Regions from separate parts of the Homo sapiens genome. Here regions 1 and 2 are each linked to region 3. The links are contacts of gene promoters, found by promoter capture Hi-C in human tissues and cell types (Jung and others, 2019). All regions are on one chromosome and are shown on one strand. The core of a region is centred on a gene start or on the middle of the fragment in contact, and the rest is flanking DNA. Distances in the headings are between cores, read along the strand shown. Region 1 overlaps NPRL3 (NPR3 like, GATOR1 complex subunit). Region 2 holds the start of NPRL3 (NPR3 like, GATOR1 complex subunit). Region 3 holds the start of DECR2 (2,4-dienoyl-CoA reductase 2).

What was found. The method cuts DNA at HindIII sites, captures the fragments that hold promoters and counts their contacts. A contact is called where the count stands out against the background at its distance.
Region 1: a fragment that was not itself captured here is called in contact with the fragment with the promoter of DECR2 in region 3 in 1 of the 25 tissues and cell types used here (dorsolateral prefrontal cortex).
Region 2: the fragment with the promoter of NPRL3 here is called in contact with the fragment with the promoter of DECR2 in region 3 in 2 of the 25 tissues and cell types used here (dorsolateral prefrontal cortex and lymphoblastoid cells).

Annotation. Positions count from the first base shown.
Region 1 is chr16:102,977-105,741 of GRCh38, forward strand. All of the region lies in intron 7 of NPRL3 (NPR3 like, GATOR1 complex subunit), which reads right to left. Among named protein-coding and RNA genes, the nearest start is that of MPG, 26 kb to the left of the region's middle. The HindIII fragment of the contact is 7,021 bases long and covers 1-2,765 here.
Region 2 is chr16:137,217-140,156 of GRCh38, forward strand. It overlaps NPRL3 (NPR3 like, GATOR1 complex subunit), which reads right to left and starts at 1,457. Exons shown (of 14, transcript NM_001077350.3): 1 at 1,426-1,457; 2 at 934-1,118. The coding sequence starts at 1,051. RefSeq lists a silencer at 887-1,116 and an enhancer at 1,337-1,386. The HindIII fragment of the contact is 17,392 bases long and covers 1-2,940 here.
Region 3 is chr16:400,254-403,310 of GRCh38, forward strand. It overlaps DECR2 (2,4-dienoyl-CoA reductase 2), which reads left to right and starts at 1,632. Exons shown (of 9, transcript NM_020664.4): 1 at 1,632-1,790. The coding sequence starts at 1,711. It overlaps NME4 (NME/NM23 nucleoside diphosphate kinase 4), which reads left to right. Exons shown (of 5, transcript NM_005009.3): 5 at 1-501. The coding sequence ends at 89. RefSeq lists enhancers at 455-764, 612-1,197. The HindIII fragment of the contact is 11,138 bases long and covers 399-3,057 here.

The sequences.
Region 1 (2,765 bases), core at 161-2,660, 300 kb before region 3:
GGAGAGATTTGTCCAGGGGATCCAGGTTACTCAACTTGAGTAAGCAATAGTTAGGATCTTGGCATCCGTATGCGACAGGGAAGAAAGGGCAAGCGAGAGGTGGCCCCATGCACTGTGCTGTCACCATCTGGGTCAGAAAGGAGGGCCACTGGAAATAAAAGGTCTATTTTTTTTTTCTTTTTTCTGAGACAAGGTCTCACTGTTGCTCAGGCTGGAGTGCAGTGGCGCCATCTCCGCTCACTGCAGCCTTGATCTCCCAGGCTCAAGACAACCTCCCAAGTAACTGGGACTACAGACGTGCAACATCACGCCTGGGGTGATTTTTTTTTTTTTTTTTTTTTTTTTTTTTGTAGAGACAGGGTCTATGTTGCCTAGGCTGGTCTCAAACTCCTGGGCTCAAGCGATCCTCCCACCTTGGCTTTTCAAAGTGCTAGGATTACAGGCGTGAGCCACCGCACCCACCCAAGGCCTTTCTGTTTCTGTCCTATTTAGGATGCAGCTCAAAGTGGCTGTTGGGACACCACAGAATCAGAATACGGAGGCTCCTATTGTTTCAAATGTAGCTGTCTTTGCTCCATCTAGGAGCACAGTGAGGCCTTATGACATGTGCTGTGGCTCCCAGCACCAGTTTAGGTACTTGGAGTGCAGCAGGGAAGAAAATAACTTGGCTGCTCTGCACGCTGGGGGCTTCACTCAGCGGCATCTAGACAGACACATAATTGGCCGGGCGTGGCGGCTCACGCCTGTAATCCCAAAACCTGGGAGGCCGAGGCAGGCCGATCACTTGAGGTCAGGAGTTCGAGACCAGCCTGGCCAACATGGTGAAACCCTGTCTCTACTAAAAATACAAATATTAGGCCGGGTGCCGTGGCTCACACCTGTAATCCCAGCACTTTGGGAGGCTGAGATGGGCAGATCACCTGAGGTCAGAAGTTTGAGACCAGACTGACCAACAGGGAGAAACCCCGTCTCTATTAAAAGTACAAAATTAGCTGGGCGTGGTGGTGCATGCCTGTAATCCCAGCTACTTGGAAGGCTGAGGCAGGAAAATCACTTGAACCTGGGAGGTAGAGGCGGAGGCGGAGGTTGCACTGAGCTGAGATCGTGCCATTGCACTCCAGCCTGGGCAACAAAAGTGAAACTCCATCTCAAAAAAAAAAAAAAAAATTAGCCAGGTGTGGTGGCAGGTGCCTGTAATCCCAGCTACTTGGTAGGCTGAGGCAGGAGAATCACTTGAACCCAGGAGGCGGAGGTTGCAGTGAGCCGAGATCGCGCCATTGCACTCCAGCCTGGGTGACAGAGCAAGACCCTGTCTCAAAAAAAATTGAAATTAACGTTTAAAAAAAAAGACACCTAATTGTAATCAAATTGTATGGAGCATTAGAAACTGGAGAGAGTTATAGGGAAAGGAACAGGGGCTTGGAACACACCTCATGGAAAGCCAGGAACAAGTTCCAGCTATGGGTATGGAGAAATGAGGGCAGGAGGGTCACATGAAGGTTCTTCTAGTGACTTCCCAGCTTGGTCATCTCTGCTGCCCTCACCGTGTCAGCTGTCCTTGGAGCCGCAGTCATGTGGTCTGGTTTGTACACTGGCATGGGGCCCTCTCCTCTGGCAGAGACACGCCATGTTGGTTCCTCTAACTTCCACGTGGACTTTACTCCATTTTCCCAAGCATCAGCTCACCCACCTGCTGCTTTCTCCCTCAGAGCACTCTGCACTGAGGCTGGTGCTTCTTTATGAACTAACCCAGCTCCCTAGAGCGGTGACAAGTGCTGCCACCAGGAGTGCCCCAAAGGCCATGGCAGACCTGGGCAAATTCCCTGAACATGTCAGAGGGATGACTGCTCTGGAAAGGTGCCGGCCCAACCTCCAGCCTGTAAATCCCCCACAGTAAGAGGGTAAGCCAGGAGCTGCACTGAGGTCTGTTAACAAGGGGAAAGAGAAAGGTTTGTCACTGTTTTTAAGTCTGCAGCTTTAAGACAAGAGCCCTTAGCACAAGCAGGGTTTGGGCCCTGAAAGGTTTCCTGCCGAGCTTGCACTTCTATTTGCAAGGTGTTTAATGGTTTGGTCTGAAAACACTCTGGAGGAAAACACTGTCCTCCTCAAGACTTATCCAGCCCCTCACACAGCTCTGGGCCAGCCAAGAGGGCCCAGCCCAGTCTGTGACAGGAGATAGGTGCCCCAGCCAAAGCCCTGCATCCTGACAATGACTATGCAAAAGGGAATGGCTGGCTTCAAACACACTCTCGCCGTTCATCTCCAAGACAGAAATGTGCACAAGCTTAGTCTAGTCCCCTCAGCTTTTAGCATCTGAGAAAGCATCCATTCCTAACCTTAGAACTAGACAGGACCTGTGAAGCTATCCTGCAAACCTCTGCATCCTCTGGTCCCACGGATGGGCCTGGCTTCCTACCATAAGTAGTGGGATGCTGCATAACCCAAAAGATCTATGTGGGTTCCAAACAGCCTACCTTGAAATTTCAAACGAAAGTTTATATATAGGTGCATTTTTATGGAAATGGGTACTACAACTCAGGATATTCACAGAGGGTCCATGGGACCAACCCTGCTCTCGACAGTTTGCAGTGCAAGGCTCCGCACCAAGTACCACCTACCCAGCCAGACCCTGGACATCACTCCCCACCACAGGTCCTGTTAACTCGGAGAACCATTCAGCAAATCACTTCTTCACACTCCATGGAATCTACACTGCTGTTATTCCCACCCACACATTCCGTCGACCCCTAGCGGATGAGCTGTGC
Region 2 (2,940 bases), core at 207-2,706, 260 kb before region 3:
CTCAAAAAATAAATAAAATAAAAACAAAAACTGAACATTCATGATGATGAAAAATCAAAAGTAACCTACATGCCGTCCACAGGGGAAGGCAGCAGCCTGCAGCCAAGGGTGAGGTTGATCCCTGCTTGCAAAGGCAGACGGAGCTCCAAGGCCGACTATGGGAAAAGGGCGCCACAGAACAATTCGTGCGATGAAAAACCTCACGCGACGTTCCCTTTTCCTGTGGATAGATCTGCATCTATGCACAGGGCAGACAACTCCCAACACGGCCAGGGGTGATCCCTGTGCTTGCTAGAACTGGGGGTGGCAAAGACAACTTCAGATGTTCACGTAACTTTTTTTTTTTTTTTTGAGACGGAGTCTTGCTCTGTTGCCCAGGCTGGAATCCAGTGGCGCGATCTCGGTTCACTGAAACCTCCGCCTCCCGGGTTCAAGCAATTCTCCTGCCTCAGCCTCCCAAGTAGCTAGGATTATGGGCACGCACCACCACGCTCGGCTAATTTGTTTTTTTTTATTTTTATTTTTTCAGTAGAGACAGAGTTTCAACCATGTTGGCCAGGCTGGTCTCGAACTCCTGACCTCAGGTGATCCACCCGCCTCGGCCTCCCAAAGTGCTGGGATTACCGCCACCGGCCTTGTTCGTGTAATTTTGTATTTTCTCATGATGAATACATCCCAAACTCATTTTATTTTATTTTACTTTATTTTTTAAAGGCTGGAGACTGATGAAATGTCAGCAGTAGTTGCTTTGGTGTGGTGAACAATGCATGATTTTAATTTTTTTTTTCCTTTTTCTACTTTTCAAATACTCTACAACGAGCAGATCTCGAATGCCCAGCAAAAGCTAAGCTCCGCGAGGCGGCCCTGGAATGAGGCGACCCCGGAATGAGGCGGCCCCCGCGAGCGCCAGGCCCCCGCCCAGCGCTCACTTACTTGTCTGGGACGCCGGGTGCTCCTGGCTTCTCTGGAAGGGGTACCTGAACAGCAGCTTATTGCCCCTGCTCCCCGAGCTCACCAGAATCACGCTGATGGGGCTGGTGTTGTCCCGCATCCCGCCGTGGGGCCGGGGCCGGGGGCGGAGGGGGCCAGAGGAGGACGGAGCCGGAGGCGGAGGGGGCCTGAGGAGGACGGAGCCGGAGGCGGAGGGGGCCTGAGGAGGACGAGGCGGGGACGCAGGGGGCCTGAGGAGGGCAGGGGTGGAGGCGGAGGGGGCCTGAGGAGGGCAGGGGTGGAGGCGGAGGGGGCCTGAGGAGGGCAGGGGTGGAGGCGGAGGGGGCCTGAGGAGGGCAGGGGTGGAGGCGGAGGGGGCCTGAGTAGGGCAGGGGTGGAGGCGGAGGGGGCCTGAGGAGGGCAGGGGTGGAGGCGGAGGGGGCCTGAGGAGGACAGGGGTGGTGGTGGACGCGGAGCAGCGCCACAGTTACCAACCCACGTGCCACGCTCCGGGCTCGCGAGACTTCGGCGACACCGTCCGGAGGAGGTGCTAAGGCGGCGGCCGGGAGAACGGCGCAGGCGCAGGCGCAGGCGCAGGCAGCGGAATGCGCAGGCGCGGGGCCTTCTGGAAGCCACCGAGTTCCGCGGTGCTGTCTGGAGCCGTACGGTTCGCGTTTGGGGCACAGGGGCCCCTCTTGCTGGTGCGGATGGGAAAGGCGCGGGGTCGAGTCAGCGTCCCTCTCGATGTTGGTTTCTTCGTTTTACAAATAACACTTGGGCGGGGCGCGGTGGCTCACGCCTGTAATCCCAGCATTTTGGGAGGCCGAGGCGGGCGGATCACGAGGTCAGGAGATCGAGACCATCCTAGCTAACATAGTGAAACCCCATCTCTACTAAAAATTAGAAGAAATTATCCGGGCGTGGTGGCAGGCGCCCGTAATCCTAGAGGAGAATCGCTTGAACCCGGGAGGCGGAGGTTGCATTGAGCCAAGATCACGCCATTGCACTCCACCCTGGGCGACAGAGCGACGAGACCCCGTATCAAAAAAAAAAAAAAGAAAGAAAGAAAGAAAAAAGAAAAAAAAAAGGCCGGGCGCGGTGGCTCACGCCTGTAATCCCAGCACTTTGGGAGGCCGAGGCGGGTGAATCACGAGGTCAGGAGTTCGAGACCATCCTGGCCAACATGGTGAAACCCCGTCTCTACAAAAAAAAAAAAAAAAATTAGCCGGGCGTGGTGGCGGGCGCCTGTAATCCCAGCTACTCGGGAGGCTGAGACAGGAAAATCGCTTGAACCCGGGAGGCGGAGCTTGCGGTGAGCCGAGATTGCGCCACTGCACTACAGCCTAGGCGACAGAGCGAGACTCCGTCTCAAAAAAAAAAAAAAAAAAAAAAAACACTTGGAAGCCGACAGGAGATCTTTGAGACCTTGGGCGAGGCAGTGACACTAAAGGCAGGAGCGACTACAGAAGAATAAATTAAACTTCATCAGATTAAAAACTTTACTGCGGCCGGGCGCGGTGGCTCACGCCTGAAATCCCAGCACTTTGGGAGGCCGAGGTGGGCAGATCATGAGATCAGGAGATCTAGACCATCCTGGCCAACATGGTAAAACCCCGTCTCTCTACTAAAAATACAAAAATTAGCTGGGTTTGGCGGCGCCTGCTTCTAATCCCAGCTACTCGGGAGGCTGAGGCAGGAGAATCGCTTGAAGCCGGGAGGCGGAGGTTGCAGTGAGCCGAGATCGTGCCACTGAACTCTGGCCTGGCGACAGAGCGAGACTCCATCTCAAAACAAAACAAAAACTTCGGTGCTTTAAAGGACACCATCAAGAAAATTAAAAGTCCACCCACAGAACGGGAGAAAATATTTGTAAGTTACATATCTGATAAGGGAATTGTATCTAGAATGGAGGAAACTTACAACTCAACAATAAAAAGACAATTGAAAAATGCACAAAGGATATGAATATTTTTCCAGTGCATTATGCAAATGGCCAATAAGCACCAGAAG
Region 3 (3,057 bases), core at 382-2,881:
CCCAGCGGGAGATCCAGCTGTGGTTCCAGAGCAGTGAGCTGGTGAGCTGGGCAGACGGGGGCCAGCACAGCAGCATCCACCCAGCCTGAGGCTCAAGCTGCCCTTACCACCCCATCCCCCACGCAGGACCAACTACCTCCGTCAGCAAGAACCCAAGCCCACATCCAAACCTGCCTGTCCCAAACCACTTACTTCCCTGTTCACCTCTGCCCCACCCCAGCCCAGAGGAGTTTGAGCCACCAACTTCAGTGCCTTTCTGTACCCCAAGCCAGCACAAGATTGGACCAATCCTTTTTGCACCAAAGTGCCGGACAACCTTTGTGGTGGGGGGGGGTCTTCACATTATCATAACCTCTCCTCTAAAGGGGAGGCATTAAAATTCACTGTGCCCAGCACATGGGTGGTACACTAATTATGACTTCCCCCAGCTCTGAGGTAGAAATGACGCCTTTATGCAAGTTGTAAGGAGTTGAACAGTAAAGAGGAAGTTTTGCACACCCAGTTCCATAACGTTGTTGGATGTATGAGCCAGGCAGGGGTCCAGAGACCACCAGCCTGCAATCCGGAGAACCCAAGCTAGGCGCGAGCCGGTGCTGTGATCCCGCCAAAGGAGAAGCTGCCTTCCCGGGGAAGGGGCAGAGAGGGGCCGGCGGGCTGAGGCCAACCAGCGCAGAAAGGGCCTGGCAGCCATTACTGTAGCGCTGGCGGCTCTGTCACGCCCCTGAAGCCGCTGGCCCGCGGGTGTGTTCAGCTCAGGAGCGGCCCTGCGTGTTTTTCCCCCGTGGCCGTCGCGGACCCCCGTCTTCCAACAGTGGTGCGGGCGGGGCGCCCCGTCCTGGGTTCGCGGCATAGCCCCGCCCGGGCCCCCACGCGGAACAGAAGTAACGGACCCTTTTTTTTTTGTTTTTGTTTTTGAAACGGAGTGTCGCTCTGTCGCCCAGGATAGAGTGCAGTGGCGCGATCTCGGCTCACTGCAACCTCCGCCTCCCGGGTTCAAGCGATTCTCCTGCCTCAGCCTCCCGAGTAGATGGAACTACAGGCACCCGCCACAATGCCCGGCTAATTTTTGTATTTTTAGTAAAGAGGGGGTTTCGCCATGTTGTCCAGGATGGTCTCGAACTCCTGACCTCGTGATCCGCCCGCCTCGGCCTCCCAAAGTGTTGGGATTACAGGCGTGAGCCACCGCGCCCGGCCCCGGACCCTTCTTTATTGGCCTCAAAACGGGTCATTTTGGGAAGCGGCGCGGGGCTGGCCGCGCTTCCCTGGGCCCCGGCCCTCCCCATGGTGTTTACGGGGAGGCGAACGGGGAGCCCAGAGGCTGCGAGCCTGGCCTGGACCCAGGAGCCAGGGGTATCCCACAAGTCCTGGAGGCTCTGAACGCGGCGCTGACGCCGAATACCTGTGAAAAAGACTCGGGGAGGAGACCCGCAGACCGCCGAGCTTCTGCCGCGGGAACCGCGCCCCCGGCCCCGCAATGCGCCTGCGCCTCGCGCGCCGACTTCCAGTCCCAGCAGGCCGCGGGCGGGGGCGGGGCCTCCGGGGAGAATTCGGGGGAGGGGCGGGGCCTCCGGGAAGCAATCAGGGCAGGGGCGGGGCGTCCGGGGAGTGGGGCGGGGCTCCCGGTTCCAGGCGAGTTCGCAGCTGCGCGCCGGGTCCTGGAGGCCGAGGCCGCTCCCGCCCGTTGTCCCCGCAGTCCCCGACGGGAGCGCCATGGCCCAGCCGCCGCCCGACGTGGAGGGGGACGACTGTCTCCCCGCGTACCGCCACCTCTTCTGCCCGGACCTGCTGCGGTGAGCGGGGCCTGGGAAGCGAGCGCAGCCTTGGTGCGGGGTCCGGTCCGCGGGCGCCGGCGCCCCCACGTGGTCCCCGAGGGCTCGCGTGTTAGGAAACCTGTCTTGCCTGGCTCCTTTCTTTCTTTTTTCTTTCTTTTTTTTTTTTTGAGACGGAATCTCGCTGTGTCGCCCAGGCTGGAGTGCAGTGGCACGATCTCCGCTCACTGCAAACTCTGCCTCCCGGGTTCAAGCGATTCTCCTGCCTCAGCCCGGCTAATTTTTATTTTTAGTAGAGAGGGGGTGTCACCGTGTTGGTCAGGCTCTTTTCGAACTCCTGACCTCAGGTGATCCACCCGCCTCGGCTTCCCAAAGTGCTGGGATTTACAGGCGTGAGCCACCGCGCCCGGCCCAACCTGGCCTCTTTCTTAACAGAAAATTTTAGGTTGAAATCATTTTTCCGGAAGACCCAGAAGGCCCAGGAATGCCAGGTTTTGCCCAGCAGCTCTTCATTTTCCTGCAAACGCCTTGGTGTTCACAAGAGAAGGCAGCCCGGGCAAAGGTCGATCCTCCCCGGTCACCTGCCCTCACTCGGCTAATGGGCGGATCCTTTTTTTTTTTTCCTTTTCTTTTTTTCAATTGGCAACATTTTCAAGTTTCTATTAAAATTTTGATCTTTTGCCAGGAGCAGTGGCTCACGCCTGTAATCCCAGCTCTTTGGGAGGCCGAAGCGGGTAGATCACCAGAGGTCAGGAGTTCGAGACCAGCCTGGCCAACATGGTGAAACCCCGTCTCTGCTAAAAATACAAAAAATTAGCCGGGTGTGGTGGCGCACACCTGTAATCCCAACTACTTGGGAGGCTGAGGCAGGAGAATCACTTGAACTCGGGAGGTGGAGGTTGCAGTGAGCCGAGATCGCACCATTGCACTGGGCAACAAGAGTGAAACTCCATCTCAAAAAAAGAAAACAAGTTTTAAATTATGTTCTCCAAGGACAGGTATTGACAATTCTCTCTGAGTGTTCTGCAGGAAAAAAAAAAAGTTTTTTTTCGAAACGGAGTCTCATTCTGGGTTGAAGCAATTCTCCTGCCTCAGCCTCCCAATTCTCCTGCTTCAGCCTCAGTGCGCCCAAGTGGGACTATAGGCACACAATACCACGCTGGGCTAATTGTATTTCTAGTAGAGGTGAGTGTCACCATGTTGGTCAGGCTGGTCTGGAACTCCTGACCTCAGATGATCCACCTGCCTCGGCCTCCCAAAGTGCTGGGATGACAGGAGTGAGACGCTG